6 separate regions of the Homo sapiens genome follow, and regions 1, 2, 3, 4 and 6 are each linked to region 5. Evidence: promoter capture Hi-C in 16 types of primary human blood cells and fetal thymus (Javierre and others, 2016). All regions are on one chromosome and are shown on one strand. Each heading gives the region's core, a stretch centred on a gene start or on the middle of the fragment in contact. The rest is flanking DNA. Distances are from core to core; before and after follow the strand shown.

Evidence for each region. Contacts are between HindIII fragments. The CHiCAGO score rates a contact against its expected background, and 5 or more counts as called.
Region 1: a fragment that was not itself captured here is called in contact with the fragment with the promoter of GUF1 in region 5 in 3 of 17 cell types (naive CD8 T cells, total CD4 T cells and naive CD4 T cells); the score reaches 7.8 in naive CD8 T cells.
Region 2: a contact is called between a fragment that was not itself captured here and the fragment with the promoter of GUF1 in region 5, in 1 of 17 cell types (naive CD8 T cells). The highest score is 7.7, in naive CD8 T cells.
Region 3: a fragment that was not itself captured here is called in contact with the fragment with the promoter of GUF1 in region 5 in 8 of 17 cell types (total CD4 T cells, total B cells, non-activated CD4 T cells and 5 more); the score reaches 13.2 in total CD4 T cells.
Region 4: a contact is called between a fragment that was not itself captured here and the fragment with the promoter of GUF1 in region 5, in 3 of 17 cell types (total CD4 T cells, total B cells and activated CD4 T cells). The highest score is 6.8, in total CD4 T cells.
Region 6: a fragment that was not itself captured here is called in contact with the fragment with the promoter of GUF1 in region 5 in 1 of 17 cell types (activated CD4 T cells); the score reaches 5.4 in activated CD4 T cells.

Annotation. Positions count from the first base shown.
Region 1 is chr4:47,890,909-47,893,608 of GRCh38, reverse strand. The region is part of intron 11 of NFXL1 (nuclear transcription factor, X-box binding like 1); the gene reads left to right. All of the region lies in intron 2 of LOC101927179 (a long non-coding RNA gene), which reads right to left. Among named protein-coding and RNA genes, the nearest start is that of NFXL1, 22 kb to the left of the region's middle. The HindIII fragment of the contact is 3,608 bases long and covers 1-2,700 here.
Region 2 is chr4:47,870,707-47,873,406 of GRCh38, reverse strand. The region is part of intron 18 of NFXL1 (nuclear transcription factor, X-box binding like 1); the gene reads left to right. All of the region lies in intron 1 of LOC101927179 (a long non-coding RNA gene), which reads right to left. Among named protein-coding and RNA genes, the nearest start is that of CORIN, 34 kb to the right of the region's middle. The HindIII fragment of the contact is 4,683 bases long and covers 1-2,700 here.
Region 3 is chr4:47,908,007-47,910,706 of GRCh38, reverse strand. The region is part of intron 3 of NFXL1 (nuclear transcription factor, X-box binding like 1); the gene reads left to right. Among named protein-coding and RNA genes, the nearest start is that of NFXL1, 5.2 kb to the left of the region's middle. The HindIII fragment of the contact is 5,714 bases long and covers 1-2,700 here.
Region 4 is chr4:48,018,595-48,021,294 of GRCh38, reverse strand. All of the region lies in intron 1 of NIPAL1 (NIPA like domain containing 1), which reads right to left. Among named protein-coding and RNA genes, the nearest start is that of NIPAL1, 3.2 kb to the right of the region's middle. The HindIII fragment of the contact is 645 bases long and covers 1,049-1,693 here.
Region 5 is chr4:44,676,979-44,679,707 of GRCh38, reverse strand. GUF1 (GTP binding elongation factor GUF1) reads right to left here and starts at 1,288. Exons shown (of 17, transcript NM_021927.3): 1 at 921-1,288. The coding sequence starts at 1,085. RefSeq lists a silencer at 950-1,109 and an enhancer at 1,181-2,069. The HindIII fragment of the contact is 9,672 bases long and covers 1-2,729 here.
Region 6 is chr4:47,849,417-47,852,212 of GRCh38, reverse strand. NFXL1 (nuclear transcription factor, X-box binding like 1) reads left to right here. Exons shown (of 23, transcript NM_001278624.2): 21 at 271-357; 22 at 1,065-1,118. The region is part of intron 1 of LOC101927179 (a long non-coding RNA gene); the gene reads right to left. Among named protein-coding and RNA genes, the nearest start is that of CORIN, 13 kb to the right of the region's middle. The HindIII fragment of the contact is 3,566 bases long and covers 1-2,796 here.

The DNA.
Region 1 (2,700 bases), core at 133-2,632, 3.2 Mb before region 5:
GAAAAATATTTTTACTTTAGAGTTCTAGTTTGGCAGTTTTTAACCCCCATACTTAAAAGGTATTGCTCTACTATCTTTTAGCTTGCATTTTTTCCAATAAGTAGTATGCTGTGATTGTTGTATCTGTTCCTCTGTACTGATTGTTTCTCTTTTTTTCTGTCTGGTTATTAAGATCTTTCTCTTTATCACCAGTTTACAGCAGTTTGTTTCTGGTGTTCCTTGGTATGGTGTTCTTTATGTTTCTTAACCTAGTTTTCATCGAGCTGCTTAGATCTGTAGGTTTATAGTTTTTATTATATTTGTGAAATTTTTGTTTTTTATTTCTTCAGATTTTTTTTTCTGTTTTCCCCTACCCGTCACCTTCTGAGACTTTAAGGACATGTATGTTATATGCTGCTTGAATTTCCAAGTTCACTGATACTATTTATTTTTCAGTCTGTTTCTGTTTTAGTTTATATAGTTTTGTCTTCAACATTGCTAATTTTCTTCTGCATTGTCTAATCTGCTTTTTATCCCATCCTGTGTTTTTCATCTGAGAAGTTGTGTATTTTCATCTCTAGAAGTTGGATTTGGGTCTTTTTTATATCTTCCGTGTTTCTCCTTAGCATGTTCATGCTTCCTCTATCTACTTGAATGTGAGATAGGCTATATTTGTAATGTCTGTTTTAATATCCCTGTGTACTAATTCTGTCATCTCTCATTTCTGAGTCTGTTTCTGTTTATTGACTTTTCTGCTTTTTTGGGGTTATGTTTTCCTGCTTCTTTGTCTGCTAGATGATTTTTGATTGTTACTAGACATGAACTTTACATTTTTGGGTGCTGGTTCTTTTTGTTTGTTTATTTGTATTTCTTTAAATATTTTTAAGCCTTATTCTGGGGCAAAGTTAAGTTACTCAAAAACTGTTTGTTCTTTCAGAGGCTTGATATTTTTAAGTGTGACCGGAACACTCTTTTGTTTAGGGCTAATTTGGCCCCATTACTGAGGCAGTAAGTCTTCTAAGTACTCTACTTGATGCCCAGGTATTAGAAGGTCCTTCTATTCTGGCTGTAAGGAACACAGACTTTTTCCCAGCCTTGTGTGATCTCTTGAAATTATTCTGCCTTCTCCTTCCAGTGGTTCTTTCTCAGCTTTTGGATTGTTTCCTCTCACACACATACAGACCAGTACTCAGCCAAAGACCCAAGAAGTTCTTTCTGGAGTTCTTCAGAGCTTTTTCTGTACTGCTGCCTTCTCTGCACAAATTCTAGCCACACTGGCCTCTCTGAACTACGAATTTTGCCTACTCAACTTTATGAGACAGCCAGATTCTGCTTATGATCTTCCTCCTTGTGCTATAGCCAGAAGTCTTCATGTGTAAGCTGATAGCATTGCAAGACTTACCTAGTTTGTTTCCCTTCTGTTAGGGACTGCCATCTGTGCTGCCTCATTATCTAATACCTGAAAACTGTAGCTTCATATCTTTTATGTGGTTTTCTAGTGGTTTGAGACAGGAGTGTAAATCTGGTTGTTGTTACTCCATCATAACTCAAAACAGAAGTGTCTATTGGCTTATTCAAGTCATGGACCACATAATCTTTTCCCCCACTGGCAAAGTGATAGGATAGGCACATAGTATTACTCAATAAACACTTGTCTAATTGAATAAACTATATTGCCTCTTTTTTTTTTTTTGAGACGGAGTCTTACTCTATCGTCCAGGCTGGAGTGCAGTGGTGTGATCTCGGCTCACTGCAACCTCTGCCTCCCATGTTCAAGCAATTCTCCTGCCTCAGCCTCCGCAAGTAGCTGGGACTACAGGCACGCACTACCATGCCTGGCTAATTTTTGAGAATAAACTGTATTGACTTAATTGCTTTTTAATAATGTACATTTTGTTTTTAGCTATTTTTATATAATGAAACTTACTCTTATATACAACCCTAAGTTTCTTTAAGACAATTGTAGTCTGTATTTCCTTTCCAAAGTTAGGTAAGTAAGAAGTTAAGGAAAGAGTTAAGATGGCAATATAGACTTGAAGTAGTTGACTGGTGTCCATGATTGAAAAATTAGGACAGGTCATAGATAGCTATATTTCTCACAGACACGGAAGTGTCTGTGAAACCAGGGAAGTGACAAAGAAAGCTGGATGCAAGTAGCCTATCTCTGCTTCTCTTCTTTAATCTCTTAATCTATGGTTTGAAAATAACTGCCAAACGAAGCCAGGAGCAGTGGCTTATGTCTATAATCCAAGTACTTTGGGAGGCCAAGGCAGGCAGATCGCTTGAGCTCAGGAGTTTGAGAGCAGCCTGGGCAACATGGCAAAACTCCATCTCTACCAAAAATACACAAACTACTGAGGTGTGGTGGGGAGAGCATGTAGAACTAGGTACTCAGAAGGCTGAGGTGTGAGGATGGCTTGAGCCTGGGAGGTGGAGGTTGCAGTCAGTCAAGACTGTGCCATTACACTCTAACCTGAGACAGAGCCAGACTCTGTCTCAAGAAAAAAAAAAAAAAGAAAAAAAGAAAAAGAAAATAAATAACTGCCAAATGAATCTATACGTTGAATTTGATTTTAATTAAATTTTTTTTAAAAACCAGACTAATTGTTTTCCTGAATTGACATTCCTTTGGTTAATGTTGTTAGTCTCTGCATAGATAAAGGAATGAAATTATCTGATGGAAATGTTTTGAATCATAGAATAATTAACTGAAAGTCAGGA
Region 2 (2,700 bases), core at 196-2,695, 3.2 Mb before region 5:
CTAATTTTTTGAGAAATAAATGCCAGATGTAGGTGGTGATTTCTCTGATAGATCTGGGTAAATTGAAAACGTTCTGGAAAGGAGTCACCATTCTAGATGTCATTAAGAACATTCATGTCAACAGGAACAGGAGTTTGGAAGAAGTTGATTCCAGCCCTAATAGATGACTTTGAGGGGTTCAAGACTTCAGTGCAGAAAGTAACTGCAGATGTGGTGGAAATAGCAAGAGGACTATAATTAAAAGTGGAGCCTATAGATGGGACTGAATTGTTGCAATCTCATGATAAAACTTGAACAGATGAGAAGTTGCTTCTAATGGATGAACAAAGAAAGTGGAATCTATTCCTGGTGAAGATACTGTGAACATTGCTGAAATGACAGCAAAGGATTAGGATTTAGAATATTACCCAAACTTAGTTGATAAAGCAGCAGCAGGTTTGATAGGAATTTTGAAAGAAGTTCTACTGTGGGTAAAATGCTATGAAACACAGCATCACATGCTACAGAGAAATCTTCCTGAAAGGAAGAGTCAATTGATGCAGCAAACTCTATTGTCTTATTTTTTTTAATTGCCATAGCCACCTCAATCTTCAGCAGCCACCACCCTGATCAGTCAGCAGCCATAAACATCTAGGCAAGATGCTCCATCTGTGAAAACATTAAGACTGACTGAAGGCTCAGATGAGTGTTAGCAGGTTTTAGTAATAAAGTATTGTTAAGGTATACACATTGTTTTTTATGATGTAATGCTATTGCATACTTAGTATATTGCAGTATTGTGTAAACATAACTTTTATATGCACTGGGAAGCCAAAAAATGTGTGTGACTTGCTTTAGTATGATATTCGCTATATTAAGGTGGTCTGGAACTGAACCTGCAATATCTCTGAGCTATGCCAGTAGTTGACTTAGGCATAATTTTTTTTTTCTTTTTTTTTTTTTTTTGAGACAGAGTCTCGCTCTGTTGCCCAGGCTGGAGTGCAGTGGCACGATCTTGGCTCACTGCAATCTCTGCCTCCTGGGTTCAAGCAATTCTCCTGCCTTGGCCTCCTGAGTAGCTGGGATTACAGGCACGTGCCACCACACCCATCTAATTTTTGTATTTTTAGTAGAGATGGGGTTTCACCATGTTGGTCAGGCTGGTCTCAAACTCCTGACCTCGTGATCCACCCACCTTGGCCTCCCAAAGTGTTGGGATTACAGGGGTGAGCCACCATGCCCAGCCTACTTAAGCATAATTTTTAAGTTATAGATTTAAAAGGTAGGCCTTTATTACAAGCGTTGCTGTTATAGCACCTATCACACTAGGATATGACCAAACCAGTATGTTTTCTTCATTTAAAAAAATGCCAGTTTTTGCTTATGGATTATTTAGATAGAAGAAAAAAATTTCCCTTTTATTTAATAATGATATAACATAATTTACCACTTAACTCTCCTGGCTGTTTCACTCCAGTCCGTAAAGTGAGCTTTTTGTAAATATATTTTCCTCAAGTTTCATTTGGGAATATTACTTTATTTCATATTTTTTAGCATAATTACATTTTGAAAAATTCCTGTTCATATTAGCTAACATTTTTGTTCCCTAAACTCTAGACTCATGCTTTGTTAAATTATAGAAGACAAATTTTATTCTTTTCTTATATTAAAGTTATTTTGTTGAAATCTCAAAAATAAAGTATTATAATTTTTAGTCTTAGAAGTTTTGTAGGGGGAATTTAGAGGGCAATTTTACATTATTAATGGATAGTAATGAACTTGGGCAGTGTCACACCTGCATTCTGTTTATTTATATAGCTTGTTCCTCATCAAACTTTCACCCACGAATTTTAGCATCCATTGATGATTCTGTTGTAAATGAGTTGTTACTACGATAACATTTGAGAAAATAGAAAAAGCTCTCAAGAACAACACACGTGCATGTGTGCCCAGATGCTTCATTAATGAAACCCTTGACCATTTAATCCCAGTGATACTACATAAAGTATTCTAGAGCATAGAAACCCATGGAAATAACCAAGTGTTTTTTTGTTTTGTTTTTGTTTTTTTTTTTTTTGAGACGGAGTCTCGCTCTGTCACCCAGGCTGGAGTGCAGTGGCATAATCTGCTCACTGCAAGCTCCGCCTCCCAGGTTCACGCCATTCTCCTGCCTCAGCCTCCCGCGTAGCTGGGACTACAGGCGCCTGCCACCACGCCCAGCTAATTTTTTGTATTTTTTTTAGTAGAGACAGGGTTTCACCATGTTAGCCAGGATGGTCTTGATCTCCTGACCTCGTGATCTGCCCGCCTCGGCCTCCCAAAGAACCAAGTGTATTTTACAAAACAAATAAAAACTTGCCAAGTGGGAATTTTCTAACTCCATCTTCTACATTTATTAATTGACATTTTACTGTAAGAGCTCTCCCAACCTCGTATGTTAATACTGGCATGAACCAGTGGATTCTTTATTTGGTCCTTCGCCATCATTTTGATGTTTAATTTATTGAACATCAAAGGCCCATGGGAGTGTCTTTAAACTGGTTCTCATGTCCCTTTGATGTGTTTCCATCTTTGTTTTAGTATTTTCTTTTTTTTTCTGGCTAATAAAAATGGCCCAGGCTCATCTTGTACTTTACATATCCTAGCCCAGGACTTAGACATTTCTCTAAGGGCCTTTTTAATGGGCAGTGATATTTAAAAGCCACTTGGTGTGCTTTTTGC
Region 3 (2,700 bases), core at 147-2,646, 3.2 Mb before region 5:
GTTATAGAGTTGAATTTTTGTACACTTTGGTATTTGAGTTATATATTGTGTAACACTAATTTTTCTATAAAGCAAATAGAATGGCAGTGGCTCTTTTATAGCCTTAGGAGGCCTTTGTGTGTATTTAATTGGCATTTCAGTAGAATGCTTGGATGGGGCTGCTAAAGCTCCTGAGCGGTGGACTGGGGCAAGTTTTTTCTGGTTGTGATGATTTGATTGAACTAGAGTACTTTGTGTACTCCTTTCAATCTATTCATTTTTTTTCATCATGTTAAATGCGTCTTGAAGTCTTTTTAATTCTTTATTTCCTTATTTTATATCTTATTTACAACATCTGATTTTCATGTATTTATTTTTAGAGTTGGGGTCTTGTTCTGTTGCCCAGGCTGGAGCGCAGTGGTACGTAGTGGTGCGTAGTTCACTGCAGTCTTCAACTCCTGGGCTTAAGTGATCCTCCTGCCTCAGCTTCCTGAGTAGCTGAGACTACAGGCATGTGCACTGCACCTAGCCGTACTTTTTTTAAAAAACCTAAATTTCCTCAGGTTTGACATGTACATTCGTGTTATCTGTGGTTTATATCTGATTGCTCTTAAAGCCACGTTTGTTTATGTGAGAGAGGGCCAAAGTGATGTTGCTGTGTACCACTTTAGTATTAAGTGTAAAAATAGATTATTTTAAATGTAAATATTATTAAACTTTCTGCCTTTTATACTTTAAAATTATTATTAGAAATATTCTTGTATGTAGGCCAGGCATAGTGGCTCACGCCTATAACCCCAGCACTTTGGGAGGCCGAGGCCGGGGGATCACTTGAGGTCAGGAGTTTGAGACCAGCCTGGCCAACATGGTGAAACCCCGTCTCTACTAAAAATACAAAAAAATTAGCTGGGCATGGTGGCACACACCTGTAATCCCAGCTACTCAGGAGGCTGAGGCAGGAGAATTGCTTGAACTTGGGAGGTGAAGGTTGCCGTGAGCTGAGATTGCGCCACTGCACTCCAGCCTGGGAGACAGAGCAAGACTCCGTCTCAATTAAAAAAAAAAAAAGAAAGAAAGAAATATTTTTGCATGTAATGTCAACATTTATTAATATATTTGTAGATATGTCATATTGTTTATATACCTTTTATTAGTAATATATATTTATGCCCTTGCTTGGTTCTTTTTCTTACTTTAGTATACTGTTAAAACCAGGAAAAACCTTACAAATATTTTGGGAAACAATTCTACAGAGGAGAGGTGACTTTCCTAGAGTTAGACAATTAGTAATTGGCAGAGCTGGGTTTAAACCTAGTTGACTTAGCTTTAGAGCCATTACTGGGCTGATTTCATTTTCTCTGTAAAAGCAGGAAAATTCTGAGGAGACTAGACGGTTACTTTTGTACCTGTTTATGGGGAAAAAGCAGCATTGTACAGCAGTTAAGAACATTGACACTTGAATCAGATTGCTACGGTTTGATTCTTGGCTTTGTTACTTGGCTGTAGGATGTTTGACATATTGCTTAGCATCTTAGGGGCTTAGTTTCTTTTGTAAAATGGGTATAATGATACTAAATACTGTAGAGTTGTTAGGATGAAATGAATCAGTATGTGTAAGTACTGTAGTGCTTACAGTAGTGCCTGTTGTGTAGTCTGTGCTGTATATCTGTTTGCTGGAATGTTTAATGTATTTTGTGGCTTGATTATTAGAGATTTTCTATCGTAACTGCTGCTTTCTTTTAAAAAATTTGTTTCTTTTTTTTTTTTTTTTTTGCGACGGAGTCTCACTCTGTCGCCCAGGCTGGAGTGCAGTGGCGCAATCTCAGCTCACTGCAAGCTCCACCACCCGGGTTCATGCCAATCTCCTGCCTCAGCCTCCCGAGTAGCTGGGACTACAGGTGCCCGCCACCATGCCCGGGTAATTTTTTGTGTTTTTAGTAGAGACGGGGTTTTACTGTGTTAGCCAGGATGGTCTTGATCTCCTGACCTCGTGATCCGCCCGCCTCGGCCTCCCAAAGTGCTGGGATTACAGGCGTGAGCCATTGCGCCAGGCCAAAAATTTGTTTCTTTTTTCAGTCATGTCTTCCCTTGATCATAAGGCCCCACATCCTAAGCTCTCTCCATCTACACTATACTAATGTGTTCCTTAGTTATTATCTTGTGCTTTCATGAGAAGTATAAGGCCAGTGATGCCAGGATTCAGGCCTGTTAGTTAGTATGACAGAATCAGAAGCATAGCAGAGTTTGAGCATTAGTTAGCATAAACGCAAATAAAGAGCATGAGAGTTAGTCTTTTTTTTTTTTTGGAGACAGTCTTCTTCTATTGCCCAGGCTGGAGTGCAGTGATGTGATCATAGCTCCCTACAATCTTGAACTACTGAGCTCAAGTGACCCTCCTGCTTTAGCCTCCCAAGTAGCTGGTACTGCAAGCACACACCACCATGCCTGGTTAATTTTTTTAGAATTTTTTTGTAGAGACAGTGTTTTCCTGTGTTGTCAAGGCTGGTCTTGAATTCCTGGCTACAGAGAATTCTCCCACCTCAGCTTCCCAAAGTGGCAGGCGTGAGCCACTGTGCCTGGCTGAGAGTTAATCAAGTCTTCAGACAGAAGGATCGATGTATTTCACCTTTCCCTTCCCAACACATAACCTTGGTGATTAGATAGTTGCCTGAGTATATTGATAGGATCATGAAGATAGTTGTACATCATCAAGTAGGTTTC
Region 4 (2,700 bases), core at 122-2,621, 3.3 Mb before region 5:
CTAAAGTTTGATCATAACCTATGTTTGTTCTCAGAATTACTTACAATACTGGTGCCTCATAAATGTTGCTGATGGACCAGTTCTAAACTCATAGGCACTGATAGAGGAGAGATATTTTAAAGAAACTGATGCCAATATATTAAGTGACACTGGCCAAAGTTATGTAACTGCTAAAACCAGGGCCAAGTAACCCAATTCCCAGCCAGCATTCTATTTCAGAAAAATAAAAACATAAAGTACAAGAAAAAGCCAGTTGAAATTTATTATTCATGTTTATATAAGGATGAAATGCTTTAAATAATTTGTCAAATATTTGCCTATAGAGAATAATAATATAAATTTAAATAATAATTTAAATTATCCAGTTTATTACATGGAATAGAAATCTGGTTTTAAGAAAGTCAATAATTGTATAAAACTACCTTTTTAATCACCGCAAGATATTTCCAGTTGGGGGTCTCACCATCTATTCTACTGTGATAGTTTGGATTATTATTCATTCAGTATTCAGCCCCTTACCTTTCCCAATGTGGGCAAAGGTGCTTCACCTGATGTTGGGCTGGAAGTAAGTTGGTGGCCAATGGGAAGTCAGCAGAAGTGATATGAAGCTAGATTTCAAAGATGCTTATGTGGTTGGGTTTACTCATTTGCATCTCTGTAATTCCCTGAGGAGCTGCTGTCCCTTCAGCCTCTGCACCCAAATGAAGACACATGGAGCAGATCTGAGCTCATCCCACATGAAGGAGCCAAACCCAGGTGGACATTAGCCTGAAGCAGAGACATATAGGTGAGCCCCATCTAGATCAGTCAACCTTCAGCTGACCTAGAAACCTAAGCAAGAATATGTGATATACCTGCCTATTCATATTAGCATGGGAATGACTGAATGAAATCTCTTTATATCTGTTACAATTTATTCTCCAAACGCTAACCAGTGGGAAGTAGGTTATATCACTCCCTGGCTTAATACTCCCTGTCCCCTGTCATGGTTTTTCATCTCAACTTACAACAAAATCTCAACTCCTCACTAACTTTGAACTTTAAAGCTTCTCATGCTCTGAAACTGGCTCGTCTCTGACATCATATTGCATTACTCTCCCTCTCACCCCTCTCTGAAACACTAATCTTCTTTTCCTTCATTCAACAAATATGTATGGTGTACTACCTGTTGGGCATTTTCTAGAATCTGGAGATAGAAAAATGAATACAACAATGGTCCCGCTCTCTTATATTCCAGTGGGGGCAGATAGGATTAACAAACAAATAACTATACGTATGTTAAGAGTGCCATAGCAAGTAGTAAAAGCAGCATCAAGGAATATATTTTTTAAAACAGGATTAAACAAAAGAGCCTCTCTGCTAAGTCTAAAAGCAGAAACCCTGAGGGGTTGAAGAAACTGCAGTCAGCCAGGTTGCCTGGGGTGACAGAAAGGGAGATGGTATGAGATGTGGCTAAAGAGTAGGTGGGAGAAGGATCAGGTGAAATGAACCTTTAGACAAGTAGGTCTGATCTTGTCATTCCTCCTTCCAAAACTCCACAAGGGCTTCCCTTCTCATTCCGAAAAAAATCCAAAATTCCCACTATAGCCTATAAGGCCCTGTGGAATCCTGTCTCCAGCTGCCTAACCTCATTCCCTACTATTGCCTTTTCTTCTGTTCCTTTCATAGAATAAGTTCCTTCTCACCTTAAGCTTTTTAAAAAGCAGCTGTTCCTGAGCCTGTTACAGAGTGCTGGCTGGCATAGCTAGCTTCTTCTGAGTGAGAGGACTAAGCAACTCAGAGAGGCCTTTCCTGCCTTCCCAATCTAAAGGAACCTCTCAGTCACTTTCCATCATATGTTCCCAATCAAATAGACTTCCTCATATGGCTTAATTACAGCTTTATAACAACCTTCATACATATTTGCATTTGTTTCTTTTAAAGATAATTTTGGATTAGAGACTCTTTTGAAGCATCTATAGCTTTAAAAGTCAAAACCAATGTGGGGTGGGGGATGGCTCATGCCTGTAAACCCAGCACTTTGGGATGCCAAGGTAGGAGTATCACTTGAAGTCAGGAGTTCAAGACCAGCCTGGTCAACACAGTGAAACCCGTATTAAAAATACAAAAATTAGCTGGGCATGGTGGCATGTGCCTGTATTCCCAGCTACTTGAGAGGCTGAGGCAGGAGAATTGCTTGAACCCAGGTGGAAGTTGCAGTGAGCTGAAATTGCACCACTGCATGCCATCCTGGGTGACGGAGTGGCACTCCGCCTCAAAAAAACAAAAAAAAGTCAAAACCAAAGTATGAAATTAACTTTTTCTTCATGGAAGTTCAACTGGAATGTTCTATCTTCAGATCTCATGACTGACCCCTTGTCATTTGGGTCTCAGCTTGAATATCACTTTCGTAAGGGGCTTTCATTGAATACCCAATCTAAACATCCCAACACTCTTGATACATTACTGCTATTATAATGATCTTTTAAATTACTTTGTTTCTTGCATAGTAGCTGCCATCTGAACAGTAAGGTGCCTGAGAGCAGGAACCTAGTCCTAGAGTCTGGGACCAGACTGTCTTGCAGATCCCTCTATCCCAGCACCTATGCCAGTGCTTGGCACATGGGACTCTTGTTATTTGAATGAACAAGTGAAAAATTGAGTCTTTGTTTACTCCATGTCAAGCTCTGAGTGGTGTAGTTCATATGTAATCCCACCTGC
Region 5 (2,729 bases), core at 39-2,538:
AATTCACGTGAGCTTTGTTTTTTAATAGCCCCATAAAGACAGATAATAAAAGCACAATTATAGCTGAAAGTCTGCCGAAAAAAAACTAATTCTGATGTTTGCCCTGTAGATTTTCTTTCCCTTCAGTTCAAAAGGTATAGAGAATTGCACCATCTTTATACTTCGAATTGCAATATAAATCCATTTTTAAAAACACAGGCATATTAGGGCCAAAGTTGATTAATTTAAGGTTTTGTCTTTCTGCCTACTTATAGCTTGCCTTCAGTCACTTCACTTTTCTGACTAAAATGTATCCATTCACAATTATCAGAGTTGTTGAACCTCCCACCCTCTCCCACCAGAGTCAAAATTACACAGGTTTGCTCTGGCTGAGGTAGAATGAAATAAAACTACAAAGACAGACCGAGAACTTCCTGCATTCTAGGTATTAGTCTAAAAAAGTCCACTTCTCACATCACACAAATCTCACAAATTAGCCACTGGATGTTTGATCAGTTCTGCATTCAACAAATGAAGTAGGAGAGTGACAATGTAGTAACTTGCCCAGGCCACATAGCTACTTAATTTGCAGGAAAATGGACGTTATATTAATATTTACTAGCAACTTGCTTAGTAGGCTTTTTAGAATTAAATAGATGAATAAACGCAAAGCACTTCGACCAGTGGCTCGCGTAAACAAATCAACATTTGACATTGAAAATGAGAAAACCTACAAAGTTAGTGACTTGCCCAAGGTCACACTAGTGAGGAGTGGAGGGTCGGGAACCTGAGCAGTGCTCACACTCTCCGCTCTGCCTCCCTGTACCAAGTTGCAAGCAGGGTTCAGAGCTAGTCCCAGAAAGCCCTATACATGTCCAAGATCGCATGGGGCACTCCAACGTTTGAAAACTTGGCTAAATCAGATTCCAGGGGGCAGTCACCTTGAATTCTGCGGAGCTGTAGAGCCTGTCGGTAGCCCAGGACTCTGGAGCAGCCCCAAGGGTCGGCGCGGACCGGGGCCCCGGGGCCACCAGAAGCGCGGCCCCAGTGGCTCGTGGCGCGAGAGCGCGTGCGCACCCCCAGCCCCGACCCACGAGGGTCCACATGACCCGGGCGGCGGAGGCGTCAGGAGAGGGTACCCACACGCAACAGCAGCATAGCCCGTTTTTTTTCGAAGGTACCCCCCGTAGGATCCGGTGGACAGGACTCAAACAGATCCTGTGAAGCGAAGACAATGAACCCCGGGGAGCTCTGCCCAAGTACCAGATCCGGAAGCAACCCGAAGCGGCGGCGCAGCTTGCCGACGTCTGCACGCCGCACGCTGTCGTGACATCAGCGCGTCTTGGCGCCGGGTAGTGGAGTGGTCACGTGAGTGGAGGCTTTCGATTGACTCCCTAAAACGCAGGGTGTAGACAGAGTACATATTAGCTTATATTGTCTGCTGAGTGCTGTGCCAATTCCTTTGCATTGTCTCTTTCTTACTACTGCCCTGTGGTGTGTGTACTGTCAGTTCCCCCAAACTACCTCTGGAAATCCGGACCGAGTGACTTGCCCAGGAGCTCACAGGTGGGGAGCTGTGGAGCCTGGAGTGCCGCCCAGGCAGTCTGATTCCCGAACCAGGAGCCGAGGTCTTAGTCCAGGGACTTAAAGATGCTATTATTAGCACAACGTTGAGACTTAGCCTTCTACCTAATGGCAAAATAATAATGGCACTTTTAAAATCTGGAGGTCGAAATGTATTCCCCATGTTGTCAGTGACAGAGCTAATCTTGAAGTGCATCTGAAAGGAAACGGGCCATAACATTGATTGCAATACTGAATCCAGGAAGGTTTTGGCAAGAAGTAAAGGTGGGAAAAAGTTCCATGCTGGACCCCCAATGTTTCCATCGTCATCAAGTTACCACTTCATGGAATGAGCTCTGACGAAGTAAGAATGGGGGATAAAACAGGTGATAGGAGGATTGCATCCAGTGTTTGTCTCCCACTATTTCTCTTGCGCTTTTCTGGAATATCCAGAATTTGGTGCGAAGGAGGGAGATGACAGCTGTGTTCAGTTCATCATTGTGACTGAAGACAGAATCATTCGTATTGTTTCCAGAGCCTTTGAAAGTTTCTTCATTTGGAGGATTTCTTAGGATCAAGAATTCTGTACCAGACTCAGTTCTTTCTTGGATTTTTTTTTCCCCCCTGAGATGGTGTCTCGCTCTGTCGCCCAGGCTGGAGTACAGTAGCGCTATCTCGGCTCACTGCAACCTCCGCCTCCTGGGCTCAAGCGATTCTCCTGCCTCAGTCTCCTGAGTAGCTGGGATTACAGGCGCGCGCCAGCAATCATGGCTAATTTTTGTATTTTTAGTAGAGACGGGGTTTCACCATGTTGGTCACGCTGATCTCGAACTCCTGACCTCGTGATCTGCCCACCTCGGCCTCCCAAAGTGTTGCGATTACAGGCGTGAGCCACCGCGCCTGGCCCTTTCTTGGAACTTTTATGAATTAAAACAGTACTTGATAGACGACTAATTCTGTCACACTTGTAAGAGAATGAATTTAACAACTATCTTGAAGTAAACACAATAATTTATATTCAATGTTGCCCAGACTTCCATAATTTGCACAATTACCCTCATTAATTTTCACCATATCCTGTCAAAGATAAAGGCAGACACCAGTTAAAGTGGTGAAGACAGATTTTTATTATAGTGATATACTAATGCAATCGGGAATAAGATCCAGAATGAACTAAACTACAATTT
Region 6 (2,796 bases), core at 160-2,659, 3.2 Mb before region 5:
ACATGGGAGCTAAGTCCAATAGTGGCACATAGTAATTATTAAGTTGATTTTTAAAAATTTTATGGTATTCTCTTTTTTAAGTTAAGAGAAAATAAGCAAGTAATCACTATTTGAAGCAGATATTTAATGCTTGCAACTATATCATCATTAAATATTAAGACATCAAATAATACTTATAACCTTAAGCTATCAGATGAACTTTGCTTTTTTATGGCAGACAGGTCTTTGAGGGAAAAATCATTTAAAATTTGAAAATCGGGTTGTTTGTAGGAATTGCAGTGCAACAAAGTACGTGAAAATCAGGTTTCAATAGAATGTGACACAACGTGCAAGGAAATGAAGCGGAAAGCATCTGAGGTAATGTCTCGTTAAATATCATTTTAAAGACTAGTGGCCTTTCCCTTCTTATTTTGTGCATTTATGTACTTATTAAAAACAACTTGAAATCTCATTTTTTTGCTTTTATAATAAAAGCCTAGTTTTATAGGCTTATTTTGAATGGCAGATTGGGATTTTCATTGCCTAGTGTATATGAAGGCTTTTCATCTTCTATGCCCGTTATAAGATTTTGAGATTCTTTGCTGCTTGGGTTATCTCTAGTGTTACTCTTCCCCTCCATCAACCCAATCAGTGACCTCTTGATTTTGTTTGAAAGTAAGGATTCCCTTCCATGATAGCACATTTAAGATAAATTTAACTCTAGAGAAACAGCAGTATTTAATAATTAATTCTAGATTCTTAATACAGCAACTCAAGAGGAAAAAAGGCAGTTTTAAAATTTGCTGTTACAGTGTTTTAACTCTTTGAATTACGATGTAATACCGATTTTACTTGTTAAGCTGAGATGCTCATATAAGGTATAACACTCCATCCATGACCACCTTCAATTTATTAGATAGTGCCTTGGTAAAACCTTGTCTCAGTATAGCATTTACATTTCTTTAAATGATTTCAAGCTCCTAAAAGTTGATATGGGTTAATAGAACCTGGATGGGTAGATGTTAAAATTCCATATAAAATGTGATGACTAAATTGTAAATTGACTTTTGTATGTGTATAAACAGATAAAAGAAGCAGAAGCCAAAGCTGCTCTTGAAGAAGAAAAACGAAGACAACAGGTAACCAAACAAAATACCCAGATTTATGTCTCTTAGCATCATTGCTAGATTTTGTGCAAACACGGGGTATATTCCAAGGTCAAACTAAGGTCTAGTCTCTATTGTGAACTGAAAATAACAGTTCTTGTAAAACAAAAATGAGCCATCTACTAACTTGACTTTAAGTATACTGAAACTCTGAAAAGGTATGAGATCTCATATATTCCCAAATTTTTTTTTTGTATTTCCAATTTACTTTCTTGCCAATATCATCCATACTTCAGCCAGAAGAATTTTAATTCCTCCTTTGGCTGGGGAGTGAGAGTGAGCGAATCATCACCATTGTAAGGCATCTTCTGGAGACCATGACTTTACTTAACTAAAAGTATTTGAGTTCTATTTTACTGAGTTGCAGACCACCTATAACAAATAAGTGCAGTTTACTAATCAGTACATTTGTTTTAATAATATATTCCCATATTTCCCTATTAGATCTTTAAATGCGGGATTATAACCTGTTCTTTGTTGTTACCTAGAGAACAAGTACATTCCTGATACTCCCTGTTTAAGTATTTACTTTATTGATCATACACTTGAAAGAGTGGCTTGACTTTCTAATAGTGATGTATAACTTTTTATTATTATTTGTCAGTTTGTATCTTGAAATGCTTTATACTTATCAGATTGTATTGTGTGCTAAGCTACTGCCTTTATGAATGATGAGATTGAAACTTGCGTGATTTGCATGAATAAGGAAATTCAAACTTTGATGAGTTGTAGGAACAATTAGAACAATTAGGAACATTAGAAACAATTCATGTAGTAAATAATGGTTGGCCAAGGTGACCTTTGAGATTTTATGGTTCTGTAAAGTTGATTTGCCTGATATCCCCAAAATAAGTTATCAGAGCTAAATAGTAAAACATAAGTTGGCTGGAATCCTAGGAGATTAAGTTATTAAGAATAGTTTAGTATGTTTTCTCCTTATTCCCTTTGCTATCTTTTTATAAATCATCATGGATGAAAATCTTAGATACATTCCCTGTTTACTGACTCTTTAAACAGAATATAATCAGTCCTTAGTATATGTAGGTTCTGCATCTGTGAATTCAACCAACCACAGATCGAAAATTTGTTTCAAAACAAGTAAAAAAAAAAAAAAATAAATAATACGCATTTTAAAATACAGTGTAACACCTATTTACATAGCATTTACATTGTTATTAGGTGTTATAGGAAATCTAGAGTGATTTAAAGTATACAAGAAGATGTTTGTGTGTTATTTGCAAATCCTCCACTATTTATGTAGAGACTTGATCATCCTCAGGTTTTTATATCCAAGGGGATCCTAGAACCAATTTCCTACAGATACTGAGGGATCACTGTATACAGCACATAATATATACTTGGTGACTGTGAGTCACCATTTAACTGTCAGTTATTTTACTGTGTCTGTAGTCCTCAAGTTTGCCTGCTTTTAAGATATTTTGACGTTTTTTATATGTCAGAAACTAACCACTTGGGAGTAGTCTGACATTTTGGCTCATTGAAGAATGCCACTTTGTATTAAACTAAGTTTATTATTAGATCTTTTTCAAGTGTGGTTTATGACCACAGTAATGGATATGTGAACTAAAGTTTACATTTCCTCCTATTAAATAACCATTTACAAAGTTTTAGGTGGATATTATTAAATACA